Regions from separate parts of the Homo sapiens genome. Here regions 1 and 2 are each linked to region 3. The links are contacts of gene promoters, found by promoter capture Hi-C in blood cells and fetal thymus (Javierre and others, 2016). All regions are on one chromosome and are shown on one strand. Each heading gives the region's core, a stretch centred on a gene start or on the middle of the fragment in contact. The rest is flanking DNA. Distances are from core to core; before and after follow the strand shown.

What was found. The method cuts DNA at HindIII sites, captures the fragments that hold promoters and counts their contacts. A CHiCAGO score of 5 or more calls a contact.
Region 1: a fragment that was not itself captured here is called in contact with the fragment with the promoter of CRNKL1 in region 3 in 1 of 17 cell types (total CD4 T cells); the score reaches 7.3 in total CD4 T cells.
Region 2: a fragment that was not itself captured here is called in contact with the fragment with the promoter of CRNKL1 in region 3 in 1 of 17 cell types (activated CD4 T cells); the score reaches 5.2 in activated CD4 T cells.

Annotation. Positions count from the first base shown.
Region 1 is chr20:41,692,714-41,695,413 of GRCh38, forward strand. LOC124904905 (a long non-coding RNA gene) reads right to left here and starts at 1,462. Exons shown (of 2, transcript XR_007067588.1): 1 at 623-1,462; 2 at 1-355. RefSeq lists enhancers at 257-466, 607-826, 1,047-1,286. The HindIII fragment of the contact is 6,795 bases long and covers 1-2,700 here.
Region 2 is chr20:59,935,461-59,938,160 of GRCh38, forward strand. PPP1R3D (protein phosphatase 1 regulatory subunit 3D) reads right to left here. Exons shown (of 1, transcript NM_006242.4): 1 at 1,203-2,700. It also overlaps a transcript of FAM217B not described here. Among named protein-coding and RNA genes, the nearest start is that of SYCP2, 3.2 kb to the left of the region's middle. The HindIII fragment of the contact is 266 bases long and covers 1,307-1,572 here.
Region 3 is chr20:20,051,116-20,053,831 of GRCh38, forward strand. CRNKL1 (crooked neck pre-mRNA splicing factor 1) reads right to left here and starts at 1,351. Exons shown (of 14, transcript NM_001278628.2): 1 at 1,177-1,351. The coding sequence starts at 1,227. It overlaps CFAP61 (cilia and flagella associated protein 61), which reads left to right and starts at 1,417. Exons shown (of 27, transcript NM_015585.4): 1 at 1,417-1,476. RefSeq lists enhancers at 1,206-1,375, 1,386-1,685 and a silencer at 1,776-1,825. The HindIII fragment of the contact is 2,238 bases long and covers 1,308-2,716 here.

The DNA of each region.
Region 1 (2,700 bases), core at 194-2,693, about 22 Mb after region 3:
TAGGAAAGACGCAGGGGCTGTGTCGACTTTTGGAGGCCAGTCCAGAAGTCGAGTCCAGGCGATGGTAGGAGCTACTCCCCAGACCTGAGCACCTCTCCTAACAGCAGCTCAGGCAAAGGCCACGTCTCGGAACAGTTGGCTGCACAGGTCACGTGACGCGCCCCTAGCCCGGCTCTATTTGGCTGCAAGAGCGCTCTGTCGCCTGCCTCGGACTCTGTTTCCCAGAAGTCTTCCTGGAAACTACATTTCGCAGGGGGCTTTGCGGCGCCTACTTCCTCCTGGCTGATTAGATGGGACTGGTGCCGTTGGCCGGACGTTTTTGGGAGCTTCACAGGCTGATGGGGAAGGGCGAAACCTGCTCGATTAAAACAACCCGCATTTCGAGGCGAGGAAGCGAGTCACGGCTCGGCCCCTCCCTTTGTGAGGAGAACCAGGCCCGCCTCGGGGTCCCCTGGGCAATGTAGTAACGTGAAGGTCTCCGAGTCCCGCTAGCACTCCCGGGGCGTGGGGGTCCCAAGTGGGACTGGAACCACCGCGAAAGAGGCGGGGCTGCGCGGATCTTCCACACCAGCTCCTCCCTTCCGTCAGGGGGTGCTGCGCATGAACGTTTTCCCATCTCTACCTCTTGGTTATCCCTCAGCAGAGATTCTTCTTTTACTCTGTACAGTTTTCAGCATCCCTCAAGCTGATATTTCAATTAAACAAATTTTAGAATTCTGAGAAATGGCGAAATAATGTAAAAGAAACAAATGATATTGGCCCTAAATTATCCTCCAGCCCCTGCTGCTCATCGGACACTTTATGAGGTTACAAAGGACCATGGCGCTGCGCATATGGGGGATCCATTTTACCCACCGTACTTAGATCAGGCTGTGACTTCCGCCCTCGAGGAGCGGCTGCTGCTCTACCGGGTGTGCTCATTTAGCCCTAGCGTTGTTTGTGCGTTTGAGGACATTCGCTGAGCCAAGCTGCAAGGGTGTCGTTATCATTTTACGAGGGGAATACGGAGAGCATGGTGGATAAAAGGTGGTTGACCTGCCCAGGCTATACAGCTAGAAGTGCCGTTAGAACTTGGTACAGGTGGAACTGATTCTGATACTTGTCTCAAACTGTTACCAGTGGAGGGTGTTCAGGTTCTTGGTGTCTTGAACAAATAATTGGACAAAACGGCACAAACAAAGCAAGGGAATAATGAAGTAACAAAAGCAGAGATTTATTGAAAACGAAAGTACATTTCACAGGGTGGGAGCAGGCTGAGCATGGGGGCTCACGAGCGCTGTTATAGAATTTTCTGGGGGTTAAATACCCTCTAGAGGTTTCCATTGGTTAGTTGGTGTATGCCTTATGTAAATGAATAGGTTAAAAGTTACAAAGGCATTGTATGCCCTATGTAAATAAAGAGGATATTTCGGCGGGGAGTTGTGGCTTACACCTGTAATCCCAGCACTTTGGGAGGCCAAGGCGGGCGGATCACCTGAGGTCAGGAATTCGAGACCAGCCTGGTCAGCATGGTGAAACCCCATCTCTACTAAAAATAAAAATAAAAATAAATTAGCTGGGCGTGGTGGCATGCGCCTGTAATCCCCTGGTGGCTGAGGCAGGAGAATCACTTGAACCGGGCAGAGGTCACAGTGAGCCGAGATCGCGCCGTTGCACTCCAGCCTGGGCGACAGAACAAGACTCAAATAAATAATAAATAAATAAATAAAAAGGATGTGTCTTATCATAGCTGAAGTGTTTCATTTGATTTAATTCTAGCAAGTCCTTAAGTTCCCTGCCTCCAGGCCATATTCTGCCTCAAGACCTATCCTGTTTACTTCGTGTAGCATTAGTTTCTTTTTCCCAGGTTTGCTGCTACTTACTTGGTTAAGCCATGATCATCTCGGCTGTACTCACAGTCTCATAAATCCGGTGTTTATTGAGTGTTAGCACCGTGCCAGGCAGTGTGTTGAGTGCTGGGACATGGTGTTGAACAGGGGCAGACACAACCTTACCTTCATGGTGTTTACAGCCTAATGGGGAAGACAGTTACTGATCACATAATACAAATAAGAATAAAATGTCAAATTGCGATAAATAGAACACCCCCACCCCCAGGATGCTACAAGAGAGAATAATGGAGGAAAATTGATACATTAGATTGATTAGGGAAAGAAAGAAATGTTTGGTCTGAAATGCTTGAAGAAGGCTGAGAAGAAGGAAGCTGTGTAACAGCCAAGAGAAGAGTAGTCCAGGCAGAGGGATCAGCAAGTGCAAAGGCTCTGAGCGGGGAAGAGCTTGGTGTTTTGCAATTCAAGGAACTCAGAGAAGTCCCTTGTGATTGGAACACAGTGAAGTAGGGGAGAGTGGAACAAATTGAGACTGGCTTTCCTTTTACCAGTCTTGCCTCTTCTTTTCTTTTCTTTTTTTTGAGACAGAGTTTCACTCTTGTTGCCCAGGCTGGAGTGTAGTGGCACAATCTTGGCTCACCGCAACCTCCACCTCCCAGGTTCAAGCGATTCTCCTGCCTCAGCCTCATGAGTAGCTGGGATTATAGGCATGCGCCACCACGTCCGGCTAATTTTGTATTTTTAGTAGAGACGGGGTTTCTCCATGTTGGTCAGGCTGGTCTCAAACTCTTGACCTCAGGTGATCCACCCGCCGGGCCTCCCAAAGTGCTGGGATTACAGGTGTGAGCCACTGCACCCAGCCTAGTCTTGC
Region 2 (2,700 bases), core at 190-2,689, about 40 Mb after region 3:
TTCTCAATTATAATCAAAATTTGGAAACTATGTGCCGTGGTTCACACATATACTCCCTGCACTTTGGGAGGCTGAGTTGATGGGATTGCTTGAGGCCAGGAATTTGAAACTAGCCTGGGCAACATAGCTAGGCCCTATCTCTACAAAAAAACAAAATTAGCCAGGCGTGGTGGCATGTGCCTGTGCACCTAGCTGCTCTACGCCGGAGGCTGAGGTAGGAGAATTCTGCTTGAGCCCAGGAGCTGGAGGCTGCAGTGAGCTATGATTGCACCACTGCACTCCAACGTTGGTGACAAGGCAAGACCTTCTCTCAAAAAAGAGAAATATCATAATGTGGCGTTCAATTAATTTAGCTTTCTGAATCAACAAGCATTTATTTGCAATATTCTATATGTCATATAACAGGTAGAGAGAGCATTGACTTTGAAACAGGTTTCAATGTTCAATTTGTTACTTACCAGCTATGGGACTTTAGGTGAATTACAGTTATGTATTGCTTAATGATAGGGGTAAGTTCTGAGAAAGGTGTCCTCCTCAAGCAATTTTGTTATTGTGTGAATATCTTAGCGTTTACTTACAAAAACCTAGATGGTATAGCCTACTACACACCTCAGGTATATATAGTACAGTCTATTGCTTCAAGGCTGCAAACCTGTATACAGCATGTTACTGCAGTGAATACGGTAGACAACTGTAACACAAGGGTATTTGTGTATCTAAACACAGAAAAGATACGGAAAAAAATCTGGTATAATTCCATGGATCCACGTCATATATACAGTTACCCTGTTGAGTGAAATGTTATGTGGCCTATGGCTGTACTTACACCACTCTGAGCTTTATTTTCAGCTAAGAAAAAGGGGATATTGTCTACCAGGTAGCATAACATTCAGAATTAAATGAAATCACATATTTAAAGCACTTAGCACTGTGGCCAAGCAAATAAGGGAAGACAAAATAAATGTAAGTTTTCTTCCCCCATGTGCAAGACTTTGTACTTAGGTGAGGGTCACGATCCGGAAGGCAGACAGACAGACACTCATTACTGCCTGCACAGTGTCATTAACTGTTGTAAGAGAAGTACATTAATGATCACATTCCCTGTATTCCCCTAGAGCTTTCTTCATACCTCATGCTGACCTGGCATATAAAATTGCATTTCCTTTTCTCAAAGACACATACAACAACTCTGCTACTGACGCTGAGGCACAATGACAAAATTTATTTTTGCCAAGGCTCTACGTTTATCAGTGTTGTAGAAAGGATAAGACTTGCATGTGAAATGATTTAGACAAGAAGTTTCTAAAGCTTGGTCTTCTGTAATTAGGCCACAAGAAAAACATACTGAAGCATAATAGAATGGCTCACAACTGTTTTTGCACATATACTTTAATACTTAGGCTTGGGTAAAATCATTTTAAATAACATATTAAAATATGTTTGGGGGGACAACCCAGCAATTGCACAGCCCACTAGAAAATTTTAACATCTAAGTAATATAACTGTTTTAGGGTCTGAAAGTTCTCCTTCAGTTGTTCCACAGCCTCTTTATCAACTAGGCAAATATATTTAAGCTTTTAAATTTCATAATGTTGGTATTTTTTAAAAGGCACGGGAGGTTCACTTAATATTAAATATATAACATTCACTTTCATAACCAAAACCTTTTTGGCAAGTGACTTTCACATAGATTATGAGATTCTCTACATGCCTTAAAATAAATCTGGCAGCTCTTAACTCATATCTAAATTCTCTGGACAACTGTCTTGCTCTCTGTTTTGGGGCCAGGGGCGTAGCAGTGAAGGCCCTAACAGGCTTGCTGACCTAATTGGACAGTTTGTTAAATAGCAGGAAATGTAACAAGGCTTCTCTCTCTCTTGCATGTTAATGTAGTGAACAGTGCTAATAGCCAGAGATTGTGCAATTTAGTCACAATATTTCAAGCCAAAATTCAGTGTTCTTATATTAAAAGATACCGAAGAAAGCTATCCTTGTTCTTTGAATTATAAAAGCACAGAGGTTGCAATGATCAGAACCAAACTGGTTAAAAGCCGAAATGCATCCTTTCAGTATTGATTTGACAGATGCCAACAAGCATTCAAAAATTTAGAGTTAATTTCTTGGTGACAGGTAGCATAAAATTGATCAGACTGGTTTCAGCTGTATCATAAGCTTCACAAATTGGAGATCTTGTCCTTCCTGGCTGTTTTTTTTTTTTTCCCACACCTTAATTCTAGCACCTGTTGTCAGACCACTGTTCAGCACCAAAAGAACTCCTCAGCCTGGAGTTCTTTGGAGTTTTAAGTGATTGCCTAACTCAGCAGGGGACAGTGGTCTTGACTTCTTGGTTGACGGTTTAAAAACATAAAAGAATTTTATATTTTAAAACTGACAAACTAGAAAATGTTAGAAACTCTATCTGAAGGCAGAAAGTATAAAGTTGGTGGGTACCTGATAAAACATGATGTATGTAAATACAGTTCAAAACAATTTAAAAGTATAAATATTTGTCAATTATTTTTCCTCCAGTGCTCTGGCTATTGCTGAAAACACCTTCTAGTTCCACCTTGTAACTGGACTCCCAAAAGATGAATGCTGACATCTTCTGATGCTTAACAAGAAATAAAAATAGTCACCTTAATCATCAAAAAGGTAATTGCAAAGGGCACTGTTGCCTGAAATTCTCTAGTCACCTGAAAA
Region 3 (2,716 bases), core at 101-2,600:
TAGAAGCTTACAGTCTAACGTAGCTTAGAGCTGTGCTGTCCAACACAGTAGCTATGAGTCACATGTGGTGAGTACAAATTGAGGTGGACTGTAAGTGTAAAATACACATTGGTTTTGAAGATGAAGTATAAAAAAGAATAAACTACCTCATTACATTTTTTATACCGATTACATGTTGAAATGATAATATTTTGGATACATTAGCTCAAATAAAATATATATTATCAAAATTAATTTCACTTTTTTGCTTTGTTTTTACTTTTTAATGTAGATATGAGAAAATTTAAAATTTCATATGTGGTGTGCATTATATTTCCATTGGACCAGTGATGCCCAATAAAAGTTTATGTAGCTGAATTATAAAAAATGTTACTTAATGCCACATGTGGAGTAATGATGATAATGGTGATAGCTCATATTTAATAAGCACTAAGTGCCAGACACAGTGTTACTTGCTCTATATGCATTACTCCTGCGAGTCAGACAAATAGTTATGTAAAGGTCCAGTTCAAGAGAGTCATCCGGGCTCAAGAAAGACTGGAGGGAGGGTATCTGTAAAGGCTTCAAAGTCTGCCACATATTAAGCACTTGGTAAGTATTAGCTATCAAAGGAAATACCAGATAGTAAGTCTACTGTTTAATTAACTTATGATACTATACTACTCCTACCGTCTACTCTCGCCCTCCGCTGTCAGCTGGGCTAACTCCTATTCAGCCTTCAAGTCTCAGCTTAAAGGTCATTTCCTCAGCAAAATTTACTTTCAGGACCCCTTCATACGACCCCCTTATTCACGCCCATGGCATATTCTACTTTGCCTCTCGGTAACATCTAGCAAGGTCGTCTTTATACAGAAACTCGTGTTTTGAGTACTGCTTGTGGCCAGCGTACGAGCGTAGCTTCCCAGCGCCCAGTGCAGTGCCTGGCTCAGTAAATCTTCACCGAACCACCCCACTCCACTCCCCAGCAAAACCACCCCAGAACGAAGGCCACGCCAACGCGGGTCGTGCTCCGCGATGACAAGAGCCCGCGCCCCACCACCAGCTGCCCTTCCTCTCCATCTCTCAGGGTGAGCCTTCTCCCCGGCGGGAACACTCTCTCCCAACCCGGGCACCCTCAGGGCTGAGGGATGCCCCTTTCCTAGGCCACCTCCTACAAGGCCCCTCGCGATCGCCTACCTTGGCCACTTTGGGAATCCGCTGCTTCCCGGCCGCGGTGGAGGCCGCCATGTCTGCAGCAGTCGACCTCTGGACACCTGTCCCCGGCACGGACGCTAGAAATCGGCTCTGAGAGCTCACCGAAACCACAAAGCTTTCAGAAAACAAACAGGATCTCGGAACCGGAAGCGGAACTTGCAGGACTGACCTTTGACCTCTCGCTTGAGCCGTGACGGAGGCGGCACCGTTTCCATGGTGACCAGGCTGCGCGTCCTCCTTGCGGCAGCGCGTGGAGTGCGGCGTCCTGGAGCTGCGGATGAGGTGGGTAACGCCGTGCTGACTAGCAGCGACGCAAGGACTGCGGTGCAGGGCGTCCAGGGCGCATCCCCAGGTCAGCCTCCGGAACTGGGATGACCAGGCGAGGACGAGTGGCTCTGTCGAGCCGTGGCGCCCTGCAAGGGAGTAAGAACGGAGCTCCAATCTGGATGCTCGAGGGCGGGGGAAGAAGGGAGAGCGAGGAAACTACCATTCCCAGCATGCGACGGGGCGAGCTGCCGCCCTTTTAGGCTGCAATGCCTCGAGCATTGCATTCTAGTAGTCTCTGGGTCCACGCCCCCTCGTTTCTGGTTTCGGGACAGTTGTGCCCAAATAATTCTAAGGTGCCCAAATAATTAACTCTAAGGCTTGGAATTAAAAATAACAGAAGGTACTTTGAAGCCAGATATTAGGAAAAAATATAAATAGAGTAACTGGAAAACAACTCAGTCTTGTGATAAGAAACATGTTTAAATTCTGTGTGTGCCTTAATTACTCTAGTTAAATTTTCTTAGCCTCAATGTCCTCAACTATAAAACAAGGCTAATAACATCTGTTTCACTAGGATTAAAGACAAATGCTCAGTAGATGTTAGCTGTTATAATACTTAACCTGCCCTCAAAAACTGAAAAGCAAAGGTTAAGAGAATTTTTTTTAATAGACATTTTTAGAGAAGTTTTAGGTTCACAACAAAATTAAGTGGAAGACACAGAGATTTCCTCCCTCCACAGCTTCCTGCTATCAATTATTGTACCTCTTCCCTCCTCTAACAGCCTCCAACTCTTAAAAATATCCTCCACCAGAGCAGTACATTTGTTACAATCTTGAACCTACATTGACACATCATTATCACCCAAAGTTCATAGTTTATATTAGGGTTCACTCTTGGTGTACATTCTATGAGGTTGGACAAATGTATAATGACATGACTTGGCAGCTCATTTGTTAGGATAATTTCCACAGTTGCAAAGCTCTTTTGGTGTTTGGGGAAAATATATATTTATGTATGTAGTAATATCACGTCTACCAATGCAGATATTACTTTCAACAAAAGATTTATGCAGATTTCTAGAACTGCAGTCAGTTATAACCAACATCAATGTATTTGCCATAACTCTTTATTAACCATATTATTTAGATATTTTATCTCACTTTTCAAAATTTAAATAGAGAAGATTTTATATCACTTTCATAAAGCCACCTAACAAAATAAATAAATATTAAAAAGATGTTTCTTTGAAGTGAT